Regions from separate parts of the Homo sapiens genome. Here region 1 is linked to region 2. The links are contacts of gene promoters, found by promoter capture Hi-C in blood cells and fetal thymus (Javierre and others, 2016). All regions are on one chromosome and are shown on one strand. The core of a region is centred on a gene start or on the middle of the fragment in contact, and the rest is flanking DNA. Distances in the headings are between cores, read along the strand shown. Region 1 holds the start of LOC124909455 (a long non-coding RNA gene). Region 2 holds the start of ACTRT3 (actin related protein T3).

Region 1 (3,787 bases), core at 263-2,762, 290 kb after region 2:
AAAAAAATGACCAGAAGTACAACGTGCCAAAGCGGGCATGTGCTCAGCAACTGGGATGGCAAAAGATACATATGGGAGCCAGCCTGAAGGAACCCTGACAAGATGATTTGGAAAATTTTAAGCATTCAAAAGAAGAATGATGGCAGTGAATTATAACACATTTAATAAAAATAAATCAATGAATCTATAATGTATTTCCAGAAACAACTGCCAGCTCATGAAAGCAGAATGAATCTTAGAATTAGAAAATTACTATTTTACAACTCCCAGTGTGGTGATTAATTCAGGCAAGGATAATAAACGGATGCTAAAACTATCAGGTGAAACTTTGTTATGCAACGGATTGGTCTAACAGTCTCAAAGTATTAATTACAAAGGGAAAAGGTCCTCTACAACAGTAAAATGGACGAGGCGAGGTGGCTCATGCCTATAATCCCACCACTTTGGGAGGCCTAGGAGGGATAATTGCTTGAGGCTAGGAGTTCAAGACCAGCCTGGGCAACAGCAAGACCCCATCTCTACAAAACAGTATTTTAAAAAAAAATTAACTGGGCATGGTGGTGCACACCTCTATAGTCCTAGCTACTCAGGAGGCTGCGGTGGGAAGATCACTTGAGCCCAGGAGTTCTAGGTTACAGTGAGCTATGACTGTACTACTGCACTCCAGCTTCAGCAACACAGTGAGACCCTGTCTCAAAATAATACTAATAATAAAAAGAAAAAGAAATATGGCAAACACCTCCTTAATCAAGTGACCTAACATCACATGACCAGTAATGAGACATGACATAATGGGATATATCATCTAGATAGTTTTCTTGCCAGAAATGTTTAATATTGAGAAAACAATTAGACAAATCGAGATTATGTGATATTTTACAAGATAACTGACCTGGACTCTTCAAAAATGTCAGTATTGCCGGGCACGGTGGCTCACACCTGTAATCCCAGCACTTTGGGAGGCCCAGGAGGGTGGATTGCTTGAAGTCAGGAGTTCAAGACCAGCCTGACCAACATGGTGAAACCACATCTCTACTAATAATACAAAAATTAGCCAGGCGTGGTGGCAGGCACCTGTAATCCCAGCTACTCGGGAGGCTGAGGCAGGAGAATCGCTTGAACCTGGGAGGCAGAGGTTGCAGTGAGCCGATATGGCGCCACTGCACTCCAGCCTGGGTGACAGAGTGAGACTCTGTCTCAAAAAAAAAAAAAAGAAAGATAAAAAACAACAACAACAACAAATTATCCAAAATTAAAAGAGACTAACAAGACATGACAAATATGTGATCCTTGATTGGATTTTGTATTAAAAAAAACTCTAACAACATTGGGACAGTTTTAATATGGACTATGTATTAGATACTATACCATTTAATTTAATTTCATTAAATTAATATTTATGGGACAGTTTTAATTAATGGGACAGTTTTAATATGGACTATGTATTAAATACTATATAATTTGATTTCATAGATAAAATGATGGTATCATAGTTATGAAAATGGCTATCCGATTATAAGATAAATCATCATAGGAAAAATGGGAAAATATCGAGATAAAATGAAGTCTTATAAGACCACACTAAGATAACCATCATTAACACTTTGGTATATTTCCATCTCATCTACATATATTTAAACAAAATTGAATTGTACTCTACATGGTTTTTTATGTTCCTTCTGCTTGTTCCATATTATAATTATTGGCAAGTCTCCATTAAATAGTCCTCAAAGATATTCTTTTAAATGGTTATATACTATCTCTGTACATTTTCTTATTTTTAAATTTCAAGGCCATGCGCAGTGGCTCCTGCCTGGAATCCCAGCACTTTGGGAGGCGGAGGTGGGAGCATCGCTTGAGGCCGGCAGTTTGAGACCAGCCTGGGCAACATAGGGAGACCCCATCTCTATGATTTTAAAATAAATAAATAAAAATTAAATTCCAAGTTTTTTTATTTTATAAGGTCTATTTTACAATATTTTATTCAATCAACATGCCATCCATTGTAAGACATCATTATTTTATGTGTCACTAAAAAGAAAATTTTCCTGAGGTGGGTGTGTCGGGCCCTACTGGGCCTAGCGGCAGGAGGGGGACATCGGCTCCCACCACAGCCCTCCAAACAGCTCTGCGCTCTGAGCGCCCCCTCCCCAGGGTCCCCCTCTCCAGGCAGGAAGATGTCCAAGTCCCGTGCGGCGGAGGCAGCAGCGGGGGTGACAGCGACGGCCCCGAGCCCGCAGATAGTGGAGCAGAGGGGTCCAGGGAGGCGCTGCACCGACGTTGGGGAGAATGTATGTCCTGGCAATCAAAGATCTTTTCCTCCGTGAGCCTAACAAATGCTCTGGAATGTGTTCCAGCCTTCAGGAGGAGAACTCCGTTACACGTCACGAAGTCAAATGCCAGGGGAAACCATTAGCTGGAATCCACAGGAAAAGAATGCAACACGGAGCACGAAGCCCAAGCACAGAAGATCAAAGACGCCAGGAGAGGACCCCTCGCACCTTTTCCAAACCAAAAATGTGAAGCAGCAGAACTTCCAAAACCTCCGGCCTCGTCTTGTGATTCCACCAATGCAGCCATCGCCAAGCAAGCCTTGAAATAGCCCATCAAGGGCAAACAGGCCCCCGAAAAAAAGCTCAAGGAAAAGTCGCAAACTCACGGATTTCTACCCTGTCCCAAGGAGCTCCAGGAAGGGCAAAGCGGAGCTGCAATTTGAAGAAAGGGAAAGAATAGATGAATTGGTTGAAAGCGGAAAGGAAAGAAGGAGTGAAGACTGACCTCATCAATGACAAAGGCCGGGTGTGAACACCAGAGGGAGCTCTCCCGGGGCGCCTTTGTGGTAGAAAAGCACCGGAGCCTCACGGAGATCACCGACGCCACGGGACCCCTCCATGGTGGATCTCCGTGGATCTCCACAGTAAGCCGAGATCGCGCCACCGCACTCCATCCTGGGAGGCAGAGGGAGACTCCAGCTCAAAATAAGTAGATGACTGAATGAATGAATGAACGAATGAATGAATGAATGGATGTTACAGGTTTCCAAGGTGGACTTAAACAGATGGCTTTATATTACCAAAACTTTTACATTCTAGTTGTTTTTGTGCCTTTTTTTTTTTTTTTAATACAGGTTGAACGTTTTGTGCTTCCCATGCATGCAGTCAAAAACTCAGCACACAGGCCAGGCGCGGTGGCTCACACCTGTAATCCCAGCACTTTGGGAGGCCGAAGCGGGTGGATCACTTGAGGTCAGGAGATTGAGACCAGCCTGGCAAACATGGTGAAACCCCGTCTCTACTAAAAATACAAAAATTAGCCGGGCGTGGTGGTGCATGCCTGTAATCCCAGCCACTGGGGAGGCTGAGGCAGGAGAATCGCTTGAACCCAGGAGGTGGAGGTTGCGGTGAGCCGAGATCCCGCCATTGCACTCCAGCCTGGGTGACAGAGTGAGACCATGTCTCAAAAACAAACAAAAAAAGCAAAAAAAAAAAAAAAAAAAAAACCTCAGCACAGGATTAGAGCCAAACGTGAACTAGGAAGCCGCGCGAGTCTCCTCTCTCCGGTGGAAGAGCTGGGACGTGTCCCCCACACCGCGACGAGGTATGAGGAAGACGCTGTCTCCCAAAGGCCTGGACGGGATGGCTCCAAGCTCTTGTTCTCCTAACATCTGGACAGGCGCTCTTTGAAGTGTATGAATATATTTTTAAAAGATTGGGCAGTAAGCTTGTCTTCCCCGTGCTTTCTCGAAAGCTTACTGAGCTCGTGGCCCTGAGCGCGGGCCGGCATAGAT
Region 2 (3,781 bases), core at 306-2,805:
AGGCCTGCCAGATCCAGTTGCTGCACACCATGAGGCAGACAGTAACCCTCAAAGATGGGCACACTCTGGGTAACCCCAGCACCTGAATTCAGCACAAGGCCAGTAGTGAAGCCAGCAGCAAAGAGAGCCAGCACAGCCTGGATGGACATATAGAAGGCAGGAACACCCAGATGCTCAAAAAACATTTCCGTGATCTGTTGCCGGTTGGCCAGTGGGTTCAGCGCTGGCTCAGTAATCAAGACTGGGCCATCACACGGCTTCAGCTTTAGGTTATAGTCATAGATATGCTTCCACATGATCTCCATGTCCTCCCATGAAGTAATGAGACCACGCTCCACTGGGTAACTGTAAGGAAAGCAATAAGATCAATGACAGCTTTTTATTTTTCTAGTTTCTATTGTCTTCGACCCTCAGTTAATTCCCCGCGTTTATTACCAATATCCCTTTATGGGCAATAACTGCCACAGCCTCTCACAGCAGGTAAGTGTCAGCCAAAAATAGCACAGCTACTTACCTCTGCAATTTTTTTTTTTTTTTTTGGAGACAGAGTCTCGCTCTGTCACCCAGGCTGGAGTGCAGTGGCGCGATCTCAGCTCACTGCAAGCTCCGCCTCCCGGGTTCACGCCATTCTCCTGCCTCAGTCTCCTGAGTAGCTGGGACTACAGGCGCGCGCCACCACGCCCGGCTAATTTTTTTGTATTTTTAGTAGAGACGGGGTTTCACCGTGTTAGCCACGATGGTCTCGAACTCCTGACCTCGTGATCCGCCCTGCTCGGCCTCCCAAAGTGCTAGGATTACAGGCGTGAGCCACCGCGCCCGGCCTACCTCTGCGATTTTTGTTGCTTTCCATTTTCTCTGTCCTTTGGAACCTTGTGACTTTTAAAAAATTGGGAAATGTCCACATTATAGTATAGTTTAAATGTCAATTGAAGAGAATAACCCAAGTGACAAAAGGGACCATGAGTTAATATTCTTAAATGAATTCGTTCGATAACTTTATACGTTTTAATACATTTGTATAGCCACAGAGAGCAAAATGTTCAGTTTTTAGATGTGTGGTACCCTTGGAGATTTGTGGCCCGTGCGTTTGTAGTAATTCCAGCTGGATGGGGCTTTCCAGCTCCCGGCTTTCTTATTCTTTCTGTCCCCATTGCGCACCTCCTTTGGGGTCCTTTCCTGCCCCCCGACAACACCCCCAGTCCCCCCACCCCCAGCCACCCCAGCCCCACCCCCCAACCTCCCCAGCCCCACCCTACCCCACCCCCACCCCACCCACCCTCCCCAGCCCCAGCAGCCTGCTGGGAGAAGGAGGTACCTGATGAACAGCGAGCTCCTCCAGTCCTGAGCTTGGTCGCCCACGCAGAGTTCTAGCCCGCCCTGGGCCGCGCGGCTCTGGCCCTTGGCGCGGCCGATAATGTTCGGGTAGATAAACTGGGGCTCCCGGCACCCAGCCACGCCCGCCTTGATCATTCCCGAGCCGTTGTCGATCACCACCGGTAGCTGGCAGTGGTTCATGCCGCCGCTGCTGCCGCCGCCTCCTGTCTCTGAGCCGCTCTAGCTACGGGCTCGGCCGGGGCCGAGTGCCTGGAACGCCGCGTCACAGAGGCCCCGGCACGGCCGGGTGAGGCCAGAGTCCTGGGGGCGCAGGCAGGGGGTCGGCAGGGCCCCAGGCGGAAGGACTCGCTGGACGCACCGTGCTCCTCATGTTACCGCCCGCTATTGCTTCTCGCAGGAATTGGGCCACCCCAACACCTGGAATCCCGGAATCCCAGTATCAGGAAAACCCGACTTTCGCATCAAAAGATTCAACTCTAACCCTTCACAAGTGCATTTCTCAAATACCCAGAAGAGCTATAACAGCAGTTTTATTTTCCAAAGCCACGGAATTCTGGTTAACTGGTGGCGGTTCCGGGGAGTTCTAGAATTCGCCCTTGAAACTGGGGAAAAATGAGACTTAAGAGGAGAAAGTTGTTGCAGGAAGGGAGGCAGTGTCTGCTTCTGAAATGTTAAACTTCTAAAATAAGGAGAAAAATGCTGGAATTTAAATGAGTTTTAAGTACGTTTATTATTGTTTCTGTACCTTGGGCAATGCTTTGTTGTGTTTCTTCCTGTGATTTCCAAGCAAAATGTACGCAATTAAAACAAAATAGTAGTTCCTAGCTTAAATATGTAAATAAATATAAATTTATATATATTTATATAAATATATATAAATTTAAATATAAAATATTAAAAAATATATAAATTTATATAATTTATATAAATATATGTTATATTATATAAATATATTTATATATTTATAAAATATATATTTATATATTTAAGCAAGGATATAAATCGAAATATATATATTTATATTTATTATATGTATAAATATAAATATATAAAAATTTATATTTATATTTATTATATGTATAAATATAAATATATAAAAATTTATATTTATATATCATAAATATAAATATATAAAAATTTATATTTATATATCATAAATATAAATATATAAAAATTTATATTTATATATCATAAATATAAATATATAAAAATTTATATTTATATATCATAAATATATAAAAATTTATATTTATATATCATAAATATATAAAAATTTATATTTATATATCATATATAAAAATTTATATTTATATATCATATATAAAAATTTATATTTAGATATCATATATAAAAATTTATATTTAGATATCATATATAAAAATTTATATTTAGATATCATATATAAAAATTTATATTTAGATATCATATATAAAAATTTATATTTAGATATCATATATAAAAATTTATATTTAGATATCATAAATAAAAATTTATATTTAGATATCATAAATAAAAATTTATATTTAGATATCATAAATAAAAATTTATATTTAGATATCATAAATAAAAATTTATATTTAGATATCATAAATAAAAATTTATATTTATATATCATAAATATATAAAAATTTATATTTATATATCATAAATATATAAAAATTTATATTTATATATCATAAATATATAAAAATTTATATTTATATATCATAAATATATAAAAATTTATATTTATATATCATAAATATATAAAAATTTATATTTATATATCATAAATATATAAAAATTTATATTTATATATCATAAATATATAAAAAATTATATTTATATATCATAAATATATAAAAAATTATATTTATATATCATAAATATATAAAAAATTATATTTATATATCATAAATATATAAAAAATTATATTTATATATCATAAATATATAAAAAATTATGTTTATATATAATAAATATATAAAAAATTATGTTTATATATAATAAATATAAAAATTTGTTTATATATAATAAATATAAAAATTTATGTTTATATATAATAAATATATAAAAATTTATGTTTATATATAATAAATATATAAAAATTTGTTTATATATAATAAATATATAAAAATTTATGTTTATATATAATAAATATATAAAAATTTATGTTTATATATAATAAATATATAAAAATTTATATTTATATATAATAAATATAAATATATATATTTCGATTTCTATCCTTCTGGTGTAATCTGCAAGCCTCATTCGCTACTCTTGATTTTTAGGCTGAAGGACGTGCCTGTCTTTTTGCAGGAAAAGTGAAGTTTATCAGGTCATATGAAATTCAAGTTTGGAAAAATTTGAAAGTACATTGCATGTCAATAAACGCATCTTGGTGTCTGATTCTGCATACATCTGTAGAGAATTTGAAAACAAGCAGTCAATTTAGAACTTCTGC

Evidence for each region. The method cuts DNA at HindIII sites, captures the fragments that hold promoters and counts their contacts. A CHiCAGO score of 5 or more calls a contact.
Region 1: a fragment that was not itself captured here is called in contact with the fragment with the promoter of ACTRT3 in region 2 in 1 of 17 cell types (total CD8 T cells); the score reaches 5.7 in total CD8 T cells.

The regions. Positions count from the first base shown.
Region 1 is chr3:170,060,076-170,063,862 of GRCh38, forward strand. All of the region lies in intron 2 of GPR160 (G protein-coupled receptor 160), which reads left to right. It overlaps LOC124909455 (a long non-coding RNA gene), which reads right to left and starts at 914. Exons shown (of 3, transcript XR_007096156.1): 1 at 1-914. It also overlaps the pseudogene KMT5AP3. RefSeq lists enhancers at 1,657-2,178, 2,179-2,699. The HindIII fragment of the contact is 4,412 bases long and covers 1-3,718 here.
Region 2 is chr3:169,768,006-169,771,786 of GRCh38, forward strand. ACTRT3 (actin related protein T3) reads right to left here and starts at 1,556. Exons shown (of 2, transcript NM_032487.5): 1 at 1,316-1,556; 2 at 1-345. The coding sequence starts at 1,515. RefSeq lists enhancers at 279-423, 1,285-1,544, 1,636-1,780, cis regulatory regions at 351, 1,708 and a silencer at 1,625-1,694. The HindIII fragment of the contact is 4,942 bases long and covers 1-3,781 here.